3 separate regions of the Homo sapiens genome follow, and all the other regions are linked to region 1. The links are contacts of gene promoters, found by promoter capture Hi-C in blood cells and fetal thymus (Javierre and others, 2016). All regions are on one chromosome and are shown on one strand. Each heading gives the region's core, a stretch centred on a gene start or on the middle of the fragment in contact. The rest is flanking DNA. Distances are from core to core; before and after follow the strand shown.

Region 1 (4,572 bases), core at 108-2,607:
AGTCTAAGTCAGCTGGCTGTGGACCGTAATCTAACAAGGGCTCCGAAACAATTCAAAAAATTCAAAAAGGGTGTGAAAATTTAATGACTGGACCATCCTATTGATTTGCAAAACCTAATATTCAGCTCTAAAATCTTGAGTGTGAAGATTGAGTGTTCCACCATAAAAATAGAAGAGAATTTGTGTTAAGCTATACCCTTCACACTTTTTGTTCACTTGTAAGAAACTATGTGATTATTTTCATTCCTGGGAAAACCTCCCACCGCTGTCTCCAGTTGTGTACGTGGGTGTGTATGAAATCCGCCCCAGGCCCCTTGTCACCCCACAGTATTTCTTTACGATCCTCATTCTACTGTTAGAAATCCAGAGGAATGTGAGGAGGAAAGCAAGTATAAACTTCATCATAATTATAACAAGTTGTTAAAAAGGTTGTGTTCATTTCAGAAAATGTCTTCATGAGGTCTGGTGGTCTTTTTCCCTGACAATTTGTATCTGGTGTTTTGTAAAGCATTACCATTTTATATGAAGTTAAAGCAGTTACTTTGAAAAAGTTACATGGGGTAAGTATAAAATTGGAAAGGATATTTTTGTAGTTTTAAGAAGAGTAAGACTTCTCCGCGTGAAAAAGTGTTTTCTTGTGAATTAGCTGAAGCTACCCTGTATTTTAATAGTTAGGCTCAGAGGTGACACATGCTGTGCTTTTTCTTCTTGAAGGCAGGTTGGGAGAAGGTAAGACAAGTAGTTGTTATTTTTAAAGAGCTGGGAAAGCTGCGTATCATGCAATTGAGGAGGGGCTGTAGGAAGTTCTGGTAGCAGCCCCTCCTACACTTAAACTTTAGCCAGGAAGCTGATTTTGCATTTGTTAGAAAAAGGTATTTGTCACAGTACGTTCAATTTGGGAAGAGTGTTTTCTTGCTGTTTTTGTCTAAAATTTGAACATCAAAATATCCAAATCAACAGGTCAGATGGATTGCTTGACTTGGGTGGGTACTTTTGTGTATGTTGGGGATATAGAATTCCCAGATGTAATATAGGACACCACCTAAAGTTTTTTTTCTTTTCTCTTTTTTTTTTTTTTTTTTTTGAGACAGAGTCTTGCTCTGTTCCGCAAGCTGGAGTGCAGTGGTACGAGCTCTGATCACTGCAACCTCTGCCTCCCGGGTTCAAGTGATTCTTCTCCCTCAGCCTCGCCAGTAGCTGGGATTACAGGCATCCACCAGCATGCCTGGCTAATTTTTGTATTTTTTAGTAGAGACGGGGTTTCACCATGTTGGCCAGGCTGTTCTTGAACTCCTGACCTCAGGTGATCCAACTGCCTCGGCCTCCCAAAGTGCTGGGATTACAGTCATGACCCACCGCACCCGGCCTAAATTTGAATTTCAAATAAACGTCAAATAACTTTTAGTATTGTTGTTTACCTTAATTTCCAATTGAACTGGGATTTTTTTTCCTTCTAAATCTGGCATCTCTGGGTGGGGCAGGGGATGAGGTGGGTGTTGACAAAAGATAATCTATTATTTTCAGAATTCAGAATTTCAAATTGGTATCTGTTTAGAACTTCTATTGTTCTGCTCTTACCTTTAACATAAATCGCTCTTTTTAAACATTTTTAATTATAGTATTGCCTAAGTGTAATCTTGAACATGGGCGGTGCTGTGAGTGCTGGTGAAGACAATGATGAGCTGATAGATAATTTGAAAGAAGCACAGTATATCCGGACTGAGCTGGTAGAGCAGGCTTTCAGAGCTATCGATCGTGCAGACTATTATCTTGAAGAATTTAAAGAAAATGCTTATAAAGACTTGGCATGGAAGCATGGAAACATTCACCTCTCAGCCCCGTGCATCTACTCGGAGGTGATGGAAGCCCTAGATCTGCAGCCTGGACTCTCGTTTCTGAACCTGGGCAGTGGCACTGGGTATCTCAGCTCCATGGTGGGCCTCATTCTAGGTAAGTGTGGAAGGAGAGTCTGAAAACTCATCTGTCTCAGGGAAGGAGGCATCTCCTTTGACAGAAAATGTAGTCTGCTAATGGCCTGCCTGGGTCGAGACCGCAGCCTTCCCAGTAGTTATCTGACATTGACACATCACTGGGTGGTGGATAGAGGGATGAGGGAGGAAGGCCTGCATGCATCTCATGGGCCCCGGATTCTCCAGAGGGACCTCTCCTGTTCTCTGTCCCCTCTTCCTGTGCTGCCACAGCCTGTACTGCGCACCTGCCCTCTGGACAGCGGAGGATAAAGACAGTTGTGTAAATCTTGACCCCACTGTGATTTCTCGATTTAATTTTATCACTCATTCTTCCTTGTCACTCCTTCTCTAAATCGATGGTAATTAACTTGAAAGTCCTTTCGGAGTACTTCTAAGCAGTTTTTGTTTTGTTGGTTTTTTTTTTTTTTTTTTTTTGACAGTTGTGCCCCATCGTCTAGGCTGGAGTGCCGTGACACGAGCAAGGCCCACTGTAGCCTTGACCTCCTGGGATCCAGCAAATCCTCCTGAGTACCTAGGGCCACAGGCACGCACCACCACCCCTGGCTGATGTTTAAATGATTTTTAGAGACGGGGTCTCGCCATGTTTCCCAGGCTGGTCTCAAACTCCTGGGCGCCAGCTCTCCACCTGCCTCAGCCTCCCAAAGTGCTGGGATTACAGGCATGAGCCACCATGCCTGGCCTACTTTTTTGTTTTAATACTAAGAGTAATACCTGTAGATTTTAAAATTAGTTTCAGGGATGGAAGGGATTTCACTATGAAGCTATTTAGCCTATTTTCCAAACAAATGAGTTGTGAGACTGCACATGGAAATATGGCTATTTTTAATAATAGCAGATAACTAAGGAAAAACATCACTTGGTGCCAAATGCTGTGAGGGGCGGGGAAGGCATCTGTTTTTAACTCAGTAGGGTGGAAAAGTTTTGCCGGAGGGGTGATAGGAGCTGATCTGTAAACAGGAAGCAGGGGCCAGGCTGCTGAGGCAAAGCTGGCTGAGAAGACGCTGGATGAAACCAGTGCAGAGAAGCTGGAGTCTGTATTTTTTCTAAATCCTGTTAGAACTGACAGGATTTACGGGTGGACTGTATATGCTTGTGAAAGAAACGTCAGGAATGTGGCTTGGCTTGGTGGTTCATGCCTGTAATCCCAGCCCTTTGGGAAGCCGAGGTCGGAGGATCGCTTGATCGCTTCAAGATTGCAGTGAGCTATGATTGCACCACTGCACTCCAGCCTAGGTGACAGTGAGACTCCGTCTATAATTGATTTTTGTGGATATGGAATGATAATTTTGTTTTTTTTTTCTAAGTCTGTATAAATTGGAATTTGGTGAAGTTTTGAGACCGATTATTTTGGCTTTATGCTATAGATTGCTACCTTCAGGTGTAAAAGTGTGTAGATTTTTATAATGCTTTTTGACCGTAACTTCTCTTCAATTGAGACTGTTGTGATCCCTGTGCTTTGAGAAGAGAACACAGTGCCCAGATTATTTATCATTTTTGAATTTGGGAATTGTGATTTCCTCCAACGTAGCTGAAAAATAGGGGCTATAGCTAAGGTAGAACCTTGGGGAGAAATAGGTGATCAAGCTGACTAGATTAGAAATACTATAGGAAAGAGCCAAAATGCTTAGGAAAAGATGACTTAAAGTAAGCCTGAAATGGTGGGGCGTGGTGGCTCACGCCTGTAATCTCAGCACTTTGGGAGGCCGAGGCAGGCAGATGGCTTGAGGTCTGGAGTTCAAGACCAACCTGGCCAACGTGGTGAAACCCTGTCCCTACCAAAAGTATAAGAAAGTACCTGGGTGTGGTGGTGCACACCTATAATCCCAGCTACTCAGGAGGCTGAGGCTGGAGAATCACTTGAACCTGGGAGGCGAAGGTTACAGTGAGCAGAGATGGTGCCACTGCACTCCAGTCTGGCTAACGGAGCCAGACTCCATCTCAAAAAGAAAAAAAAAAAGTAAGCCTGAAATGGCCTTGCTGTACTTGACATCCCCTAGAAGTTATAAGGAAAGGCCTTCCAACTTGATACAGTTGCTTTTCTTTCCTGAATCCCCTGTTTACTGGAAATTTCATTGGATTTTGGGAGGAGAGAGGTCTGAAGGAAGGAAAGGCCTGTTTTCTGCTGTAATGGATGTAACATGCTGCTTTGATGCAGTTGAAGGAAGTGACTTCAGGGTTTGCTGTCATGGATGCGTGTCTTGGCTGTGTCTCCAGATGCTGCAGCTTTTATTCAAGCTTAATAGCACTTGGTGCAGAGCACTCCAGAGTGAAACCTCATTGGCTTCCCGGCGCCTGTGGATGTGGGTCTCTCATCTGACGGAGTTCTTTACTGTGACCCCCGACTGCCTTTCGCATGGCCTGAGCGGCATCCTGGGTCAGCCCTGTTCCTGTGCTTGCTCTGTGGGCTCCTCTCCCCTTTGCTCAGGGCTGTCCTTACCTTTGTTTGTCATCAACCAGGGGAGAATACAGTAGCTACTAAGAGATGGTGGCTCATAAGTCACCTACCTGAAAAGTGCTGGGTGATTCGGAAGCAGGGCAGACCTAGGAGCGGCTCTGCCAGGGGGGCCTCGCTGCTCTGGTT
Region 2 (4,454 bases), core at 121-2,620, about 64 Mb before region 1:
CCGGGCGCGGTGGCTCATGCCTGTAATCTCAGCACTTTGGGAGGCCGAGGCAGGTGGATTATCTGAGGTCAGGAGTTCGAGACCAGCCTGACCAACATGGAGAAACCCTGTCTCTACTAAAAATACAAAATTAGCCAGGCATAGTAGCGCATGCCTGTAATCCCAGCTACTTGGGAGGCTGAGGCAGGAGAATCGCTTGAACCCGGGAGGTGGAGGTTGCAGTGAGCCGAGATCGTGCCATCGCACTCAATCCTGGGCAACGAGTGAAACTCTGCCTCAAAAAAAGAAAAAAAAAGAAAGGTGCTGGACGCCTAGGACGCAGAGGGGTGTTTCACCCCAAATCAAGTAGCACCAAGCCCTCCCAGGCCTTGGGTGCAAGCATATTAAAGGCCTCTTTCCCTCTCTGTCTCCATTGTTTACACTCCACTGAGCATCCGCAATGTGCCACACACTGTTCTAAGCGTCTTACACATATTAAATTATTTAATCCTCACAACAACTTTATGAAGTGAGCGCAATTATGAGCCCATTTTATGGAGCAGGAAGTTGAGGCAGGGTTTTAGGTAGCTTTTCTGGGGTAGCACTGTGGGTTGGAGCGGAGGTGGAGTGCACTCTTAGGCCAGCTGGCTCTAGGGGCTCTTCACCACTAGGCCGCACTGCCTCTAGCAAAGGGACGCGGGGAAGCTCAGCAGACCTTAGGCCTCCCAAGGGCGCCACGGTGGTTCCTTTGAGCCCAGAGTCAGCTCTTAAGTCCATAGGCCTTCCTGAAGCTTCTGAACCACTTGCCCATAGCTGGGCCTCAGGCTGGCTCTCAGTAGAATGTGGAGAATGGAGATTCCCGCATGTCCACTTCTCCTAAAGGTTTTATAAGGCAGTGCTGGGAATGTGCTTTATAAAAAAGGGGAAGCACCCCGACAACAGTCACTGTTTGCTCTTTTAAGCACCATCCTGAGAAGGAGGAATGTTCTTCCCATTTCATAGGTGGGGAAACCGAGGCTCAGAAGAGCAAATTTTTGGCCGGGCGCGGTGGCTCACGCCTGTAATCCCAGCACTTTGGGAGGCCGAGGCGGGTGGATCACGAGGTCAGGAGATCGAGACCATCCTGGCTAACAAGGTGAAACCCCGTCTCTACTAAAAATACAAAAAATTAGCCGGGCGTGGTGCGGGCGCCTGTAGTCCCAGCTACTCGGGAGGCTGAGGCAGGAGAATGGCGTGAACCCGGGAGGCGGAGCTTGCAGTGAGCCGAGATCGCGCCACCGCCCTCCAGCCTGGGCGACAGAGCAAGACTCTGTCTCAAAAAAAAAAAAAAAAAGAGCAAATTTTTTTTCCAAGGTGATAGGGAGAGTCCGTGGCTGATGTCTGCACTGACCAGACGCCCCTAGGGGGCCAGCGAGGGCGGGTCCCAGGTGCAGCGGATGCAGAGGAGAGAGGCCCGGGCGCGGCGCGGGGGATGGTGCGATCCCGGGCCCGAGGGCATCAGACGGCGGCTGATTAGCTCCGGTTTGCATCACCCGGACCGGGGGATTAGCTCCGGTTTGCATCACCCGGACCGGGGGATTAGCTCCGGTTTGCATCACCCGGACCGGGGGCCGGGCGCGCACGAGACTCGCAGCGGAAGTGGAGGCGGCTCCGCGCGCGTCCGCTGCTAGGACCCGGGCAGGGCTGGAGCTGGGCTGGGATCCCGAGCTCGGCAGCAGCGCAGCGGGCCGGCCCACCTGCTGGTGCCCTGGAGGCTCTGAGCCCCGGCGGCGCCCGGGCCCACGCGGAACGACGGGGCGAGGTACTCGGCGGGGTGCGGCCTGCGGACTCGCCCGGAGGCCGGGGGGCGGGAGGGGGCGGCCGGGGAAGGGGGCGCCGGAAGCCTCTGGGCGTCTGCGTGTTGCCGCGTGTTACACGCACGCACGCCCCTTACACACCTTTTCACAGACCCCGCCGTCGGGGCGCGGCCAGGTCAGATCCCTTTTGATCCGGGCCTGGGCTGAGTGCTCCCCCCGGGCTTCAGGTGACGCGGCCCCGCGGAGCGTGGGGTCGCCCGAGTTGGGCTGGGGAAGCCAGGGACGGAGGTGTCCGGCCGTCACCCCTAGAGGAGGGCGTGCGGGGGTCTGTTTTGCGTGAGTGCGGGATAGGGGAGTCGTGTGGTGCGGTGAGGGGCTTGTGGGGGGCACTGGAGGACTCTGGGGGTGGCGGGGGATCCGAGGGGGTCCTCGTGAACCCGCAGGGGAGAGTCCTGGGTGAGGGTGGGTCCCGAGCACCTGTGTCTCAGGAGATGGTGAGAGCTGTCTGGAGGGCTGGGCACTTGGTGGCAGGGGTTGGCGGTGCAGGGGACACCGCCGGGACAGGGCTGGGGTGCCCTGGAGCGGGGGAGCCGAGGGAGTGGGAGCGGGGGCGCAGCGCGCGATCTCTGGCCCGGCAGGGCCGCTGGTTCTCCCCAGTGCGCGGCTCCGGGTTTGCAGGTGGACGGTGCGCGCGTGTCTGCGGTGTGTGCTGTGCCTGCAGACCGGGGAGGGCGGGGGACGACAGCCACCTCCTTCCCTCTGCCTCACCCCCCTCCTGTCCCAGGGCCGCGCTTCAATTTCCGCTGAAACTTCTGACTCGGACACCCGCCGCCTTTCGCTTGGGCTCCCACGGGAGGGGCCTGGCTGCGGGGGGCGGGGCGGGGTGGGGGTGCGGCCTTGCTCGGGTAGACCATGGGTGTGACAGCTGGGAGGGCTGTGTGTGTGTGTGTGTGTGTGTGTGTGCGTGCGCGCGCGCGCTTGCGCTTGATGTAACCCGCCCTCATTTCCCTGGGTCCCGAGTGTGGCAGGGAACAGCAAGAGGTAGATATTAGGGGCTGCTTTCATTCCACATCACAGATTCTATTCTGCAGTGTGGTCTGCAAAATGCCTTGCCCAAGATGTATAGACTCAGTTACCGCATCTGTCCCCATCTGGGTGGAGCTTATCCCAGGCCCCAACAGGCTCTGAGGGATGGCCGGGGCCAAGGCAGCCTGGACTACTGATGTGGCACAGGCCAGAGGGACTCCAGGCAGTCTCCTGCTGCACAGGGCACAAAGCATGTGCACAGCCAGGTATCATCCTGCGTGACTCAGAACAGCCTTGAGATGTAAGGAGTGTCATCCCAGCCTCGAACCTGGGGAGCTTTCTAAGACTCCCAAGGATGGTACTTATGCATCTTGCTGTGAAGAATAACAGGATGAGTGCTAATAATGACCATTTCCTGACACCTACCTGGCAACAGGTCCATAAGCTCTACATGCTTCATTTGTGTTTTCATTTCATCATCACGAAAAACCTGTAAGCTTTGCATCCTGTTCCCACTTTACAGGAACTGAGGCTCAGAAAGCTTGAGGAACTTGACCAGGGGTACCCCCCAGCTAGAAAGGGTTTGAGACAGGATTAGAACCCAGGAATATCTGACTACAGCCACTCCTTACTGCATTCTTACCAAGCCAAAGTCATGACCTTTCACTCATGTGGGGAGGCCTTCCCTTCCAAGGCAGCTCTTCCATTTGGGAGCAGCGTACTTGGAGAGGTGGGCCTCTGTCTGGTAACTGACTCATGTTGCCTTGTTAATCCTGCCTTGAACTGTTGGGAAGGTCTTTAACCAGGCTGAGGTCTCTCGCACCAATGCCCATACCTGGGCATGCACCTCCTTGGAATGGAGTTTAAGTGGGTGGGCAGATGGGTTCTAGAGAGAACCCGTCTGCCCTGACCATGCCCTACTGCCCTCTCCTTCAGCCACCACACACACAGTCACACAGCTGCGTGAATGGTGGCTTTCCTTTCACTTAACAGTTCACTCTGGAGATCCTTCCAATTACCCTATAAAGAGCATCCTCAACCTTTTAAATGGCTGCACATTGTTCCGTTGTGTGGATGAAGTATAATTTATGTAACCAGCCCTGTAATTATAGACAGCCAATTATTTCTGTCAAAAGGGCTGCAGGAATAACTGTGTATTTGCATGCTTACACACACACACCTCTACAGAATAAATTCTTAGCAATGGGATTAATTGCTGAATCAAAGCTCACACGCTTTTCATCGTTGTTTTTGTTTTGTTTTGTTTTGCTTTGTTTTGAGACAGTCTCACTTTGTTGCACAGGCTAGAGTTCCTGACCATGGCTCACTGAAGCCTTTACCTTCTGGGCTCAAGTGATTCCCCTACTTCAACCTCCTGCATGGCTGGGACTACAGCTGTGTGCCATCATGACCAGATAATTTTTTTTTTCTTAGGGACAGGGTCTCGCTACGTTGCCTAGGCTGGTCTTGAACTCCTGGGCTCAAGTGATCTTCCTGCTTCAGCCTCCCAAAGTACTGGGATTACAGGCATGAAGCACTGCACCCAGCCTGTTTTTCATTTTGATATTGTCAAAATGCACTCCTCAGAGGTGGTACCTTTTATCCTCCCACTAGCACTGTCTTCATTGTTAGTGGCTGCACTGCCACTATTCC
Region 3 (4,355 bases), core at 781-3,280, about 64 Mb before region 1:
GGGAAATCTAGTTTCTCAAAACTTTTAGTTTTTTTTTAGACAGGGTCTCACTCTGTCACTCAGGCTGGAGTGCAGCGGCTCACTGCAACATCCGCCTCCTAGGTTCAAGCGATTCTCATACCTCAGTCTCCTGAGTAGCTGGGATTACAGGTACGCGTCACCAAGCCTGACTCATTATTTTGTACTTTTAGTAGAGACAAGGTTTCACCATATCGGCCAGGCGGATCTCGAACTTCTGACCTCAAATGATCCGCCCGCCTTGGCTTCCCAAAGTGCTGGGATTACAGGTGTGAGCCACCGCGTCCCGTCTATCATAAGTTTTATTGAACATTGCCTAGGTATCAGGATGTGTTTACATGCATTATCTCATTTAATCTGTAAAACCACCATGTGAGGGAGAAACTGAATTATCCCCATTTTCAGGATAAGGAAAAGGAGGGACTGGGAATGTGAACTCAGGAAGTGTGACTCCATCGGGTAGACTGCTCAGGCTGCAGATGTAAAGGTTTTACACGTAGGCTTTTCCAGATCTCAGCTTCTGAAAGGCGGAGGGACCGTTTGGACGGGAGCAGGGCCTCCTCTTCCAAGCACCCTGTGCCTTTAAGAGTCGCCCCCTCCCTCCAGGGATGCTCCAATTTCTTTCTCCCCACCACCCCCACCCCGCCCCCCGCGCCGCGGAGCCGCACCTCGGTCCTTCCTCCCCGCCCCACACCCTCAAGCTCGGCTCTTGGCCTTCGCTCGTCCAGAAGTGGGTGAGCTGTACCGCCAGAGGCGCATTCTCCTAGCCCCAAACCATGCCCGCTACGCCCCAGCGGAATGCCACCTTAAAGACCCTAATCCGGGCACCTCCCAGCTCCTGCTTCCCAAGGGCGAGGCCTCAGCGCCCCCTCCCATCGCCCATGCTCACGACGCCGTGAAGGTGACCTCCCCCAGGGGCGGCACACGCCCAGTGGTGCCCGAACTGGCTCACACGTGGTGAGCCGGGAGCGCGCGGCCCCTCCCCGCCACGCGCCTCGTGCCGGCCACCCGGCCACGCCCCCAGGACTGGCTCCGCCCCGTGCCCCTGCACGCTTCTCCAGGCTTGGGTGGGGCGACGCGCCCAAGTCGGGCACCGGGCAGGCTACGGGGTGGGGTAGGACCTGGGAATGGCGCACCCACGCATCCTCGAATGTCGCCTGCGGTTTGTGAAAAGCGGGAAGTCCGCCCAGCTCAGGACCTTTGGCTGGCAGGCGAGGTGCCCCGCGGCCCTTGGTGCTGAGCAGGGGAGAGACAGCTGGGACCGCGAGCCTGGGAATCGAATCCTAGTCTGCGTGTCCTCGGTGCTTCCTATTTGGAAACTGGGCATCATATTATCATATTCCCTTCTCCCTCCGGATTCTTATGGAGCTTCGAACGAGATTAAATATACATATATATGAGAAAGGGATTTGTTCACTAGGTCCAAAAGCATTTGCTGGTCCCATATGTGGTCGGACCCTGTGTGTAGTAGGCGGGGGGCAACATCTACGACAACCTGAGTTCGTCCCCTTAAGAAGCTTTCCTGAGTCTTGGGCCCCCCAAATTCTCTTCTGGGATGGTCCGAAAAGACGTCCCTGAAAGAGGAAAGGGCGGAAATCCTACCTGACGGCAGGTGTCTCGGAATGAGCTAAAATTTAAAAGGCAACGCGGGGCAGGGACAAGCGTCCAGCGTCAGATGGAAGCAGGCTCGCGTCCCCTACCCTTCCTCCAACCCCTAACCTAAGAAAAGAAACCGATCTCGCCGGTCTCCCCCAATCCTAGCCGCGAGACCGCCCAGCCCCGCAGCCCGAGCCCCGCCCCGCTCCGGCGGCCAGCGATTGGGAGATGCAAATACCGGCTTCTCTGCCCAGCAACGGGTGACGCGGCGCCCGAGCGCGAGGCGGGGCCCGGCCGCAGCCCAAGCGGGCACCTCGGTGTTTACACGGGGCGGCCCCGCGCGCGCCGCAGCGGCCCGCAGACGGCGAGGGGGAGGGGTGGTGCGCGCGCCGGCGGGGCCGCGCGGGGAGAAAGACACTGAAAGGCGTCGGCGGCCGGGCGGGGAGCGGCGCGCGCGGGCCGCGGCGGAGCCAGAGGCTGCAGGAAGAGCCCGCGGGGGCCCGGAGGGTGCGATTCCTCGGCCCCCGCAAAACAATGTGTGTTGTGAGCCAGGACGCAACTTGCCGGAGGCGGCGGGGGCGCGCCGAGCCCGCCTGAGACCGCGCTGACCTTCTCCCCCCGCCGTCCGTTGGGCCCGAGCGCCCAGCTCCTCGCTCCCCAGTTCGCGGGGGCCGGGCCGAGCCGCGGGGCGGGGCCGCCCCTCCGTCGCCGCTGCCTCCTCCCCCACCCCCAGCCGCGGAGGATGCGGACGGCCCCCGGCGGCGTCTAGCGGCCCCGGGCCCAGGCGCGATGGTGCAGCAGCGGGGCGCGAGGGCCAAGCGGGACGGCGGGCCGCCGCCCCCGGGACCCGGGCCGGCCGAGGAGGGGGCGCGCGAGCCCGGCTGGTGCAAGACCCCGAGCGGCCACATCAAGAGGCCGATGAACGCATTCATGGTGTGGTCGCAGCACGAACGGCGGAAGATCATGGACCAGTGGCCCGACATGCACAACGCCGAGATCTCCAAGCGCCTGGGCCGCCGCTGGCAGCTGCTGCAGGACTCGGAGAAGATCCCGTTCGTGCGGGAGGCGGAGCGGCTGCGGCTCAAGCACATGGCGGATTACCCGGACTACAAGTACCGGCCGCGCAAAAAGAGCAAGGGGGCGCCCGCCAAGGCGCGGCCCCGCCCCCCCGGTGGTAGCGGTGGCGGCAGCCGGCTCAAGCCCGGGCCGCAGCTGCCTGGCCGCGGGGGCCGCCGAGCAGCGGGAGGGCCTTTGGGGGGCGGGGCGGCGGCGCCCGAGGACGACGATGAAGACGACGACGAGGAGCTGCTGGAAGTGCGCCTGGTCGAGACCCCGGGGCGGGAGCTGTGGAGGATGGTCCCGGCGGGACGGGCCGCTCGGGGACAAGCGGAGCGCGCCCAAGGGCCGTCGGGCGAGGGGGCGGCCGCCGCCGCCGCCGCCTCCCCGACACCGTCGGAGGACGAGGAGCCGGAGGAAGAGGAGGAGGAGGCGGCAGCGGCTGAGGAAGGTGAAGAGGAGACGGTGGCGTCGGGGGAGGAGTCGCTGGGCTTTCTGTCCAGGCTGCCCCCTGGCCCGGCCGGCCTGGACTGCAGCGCCCTGGATCGCGACCCGGACCTGCAGCCTCCCTCGGGCACGTCGCACTTCGAGTTCCCGGACTACTGCACCCCCGAGGTTACCGAGATGATCGCGGGGGACTGGCGCCCGTCTAGCATCGCAGACCTGGTTTTCACCTACTGAGCCCACCGTCAGCGGGGCGCGCACGCCCCCAAACCAGCTGTTTACATACAGGAATCAGGTATTGGGGCCCCTCGGAGGCCGAGGCTGGCACCCCATCTCCCGCGCAGCCTGCCCCCTCCTGGACGTGCCCATCCCCCCTCAGATCCAGACATGCCCCTCCCCCGCAGACACACCCCAAGGCAGCCCAACCCCCACCCCTTCCCCGACACCCAAGCCCCTCCCCACGTCGCCCCCTCCTGCACAGCCACCAGCAGCCAGCCCCCTCCGATACACCTCCCGTCCTCTCCTACAGACCTGCACCCCTCCCCCCTTTTGCACACGCCCCTCCTCGTGGCCGGAGGACCCGCCCCCTCCTTTGCTCCGGAATCTCTCCTCCCTCGCCCGGCCCGCCTTCTCTGGGTTAGGGGGGCGATGCGGCCGGGTGGCAACGCACGCGCCTCCTGCGCCCCTCCCTTCCCTGGGGGGAGGGGCGCACCCCTTTTATCCCCGGAGCGCTAGGGCCCGCCCCTCCGCTGGGGCCCACCCCCTTCGTGCGCATGCTTAATGCTTCTGGGGAGGAGGGGGCTGGTCCCAGCGGAGCCGCACTCTTCGCCCGCTCCGGGCAAAAGCGGGGGCGAGTGTAGAGCGATCCTGGGAAATCCTTTGATCCGGGAGCCCTAGGTTTCCTCTCCAGCCAACGGGGCGTCGCTGCCTTAATGGGAGGAGCACTCGGAAGGGTTGGTTTGGGCCTGAAACTCTCCCAAGTGGCATAGCCCCTTTTCCGGTATGGGGTCTCCTACACCCACGCGCACCACCTCTCCGGTCGCGTGGCTGCCTCTACAGCCTACCTATACGTCCCTTTTTCCCCCCAACTGGGAATTGAGAGGTAAGGTCTTTCTCTGGAAATCCAGCAGTAGAGGAAGGGACCACCCAAGAAAACTAAAAACCAAGGCACCTTACCAGTCTGTCTGGGGACAGGATCCCTGCTGCACCTTCCCCACCCCCTCCTGGGAAGTGCCCCCTCA

The links. Contacts are between HindIII fragments. The CHiCAGO score rates a contact against its expected background, and 5 or more counts as called.
Region 2: the fragment with the promoter of TRIB3 here is called in contact with a fragment that was not itself captured in region 1 in 1 of 17 cell types (total CD8 T cells); the score reaches 5.2 in total CD8 T cells.
Region 3: the fragment with the promoter of SOX12 here is called in contact with a fragment that was not itself captured in region 1 in 1 of 17 cell types (fetal thymus); the score reaches 11.9 in fetal thymus.

The regions. Positions count from the first base shown.
Region 1 is chr20:64,258,323-64,262,894 of GRCh38, forward strand. It overlaps PCMTD2 (protein-L-isoaspartate (D-aspartate) O-methyltransferase domain containing 2), which reads left to right. Exons shown (of 6, transcript NM_018257.3): 2 at 1,620-1,950. The coding sequence starts at 1,644. Among named protein-coding and RNA genes, the nearest start is that of PCMTD2, 4.9 kb to the left of the region's middle. The HindIII fragment of the contact is 5,734 bases long and covers 1-4,224 here.
Region 2 is chr20:379,390-383,843 of GRCh38, forward strand. TRIB3 (tribbles pseudokinase 3) reads left to right here and starts at 1,371. Exons shown (of 4, transcript NM_021158.5): 1 at 1,371-1,780. RefSeq lists silencers at 1,655-1,814, 1,835-1,944, 2,215-2,804 and an enhancer at 2,490-3,488. The HindIII fragment of the contact is 2,528 bases long and covers 769-3,296 here.
Region 3 is chr20:323,522-327,876 of GRCh38, forward strand. SOX12 (SRY-box transcription factor 12) reads left to right here and starts at 2,031. Exons shown (of 1, transcript NM_006943.4): 1 at 2,031-4,355. The coding sequence starts at 2,404. The coding sequence ends at 3,351. It overlaps NRSN2-AS1 (NRSN2 antisense RNA 1), which reads right to left and starts at 1,731. Exons shown (of 3, transcript NR_109990.1): 1 at 1,621-1,731. RefSeq lists silencers at 901-1,160, 1,721-2,030, 2,141-2,520, 2,591-2,650, 2,671-3,160 and 2 more. The HindIII fragment of the contact is 3,425 bases long and covers 1,534-4,355 here.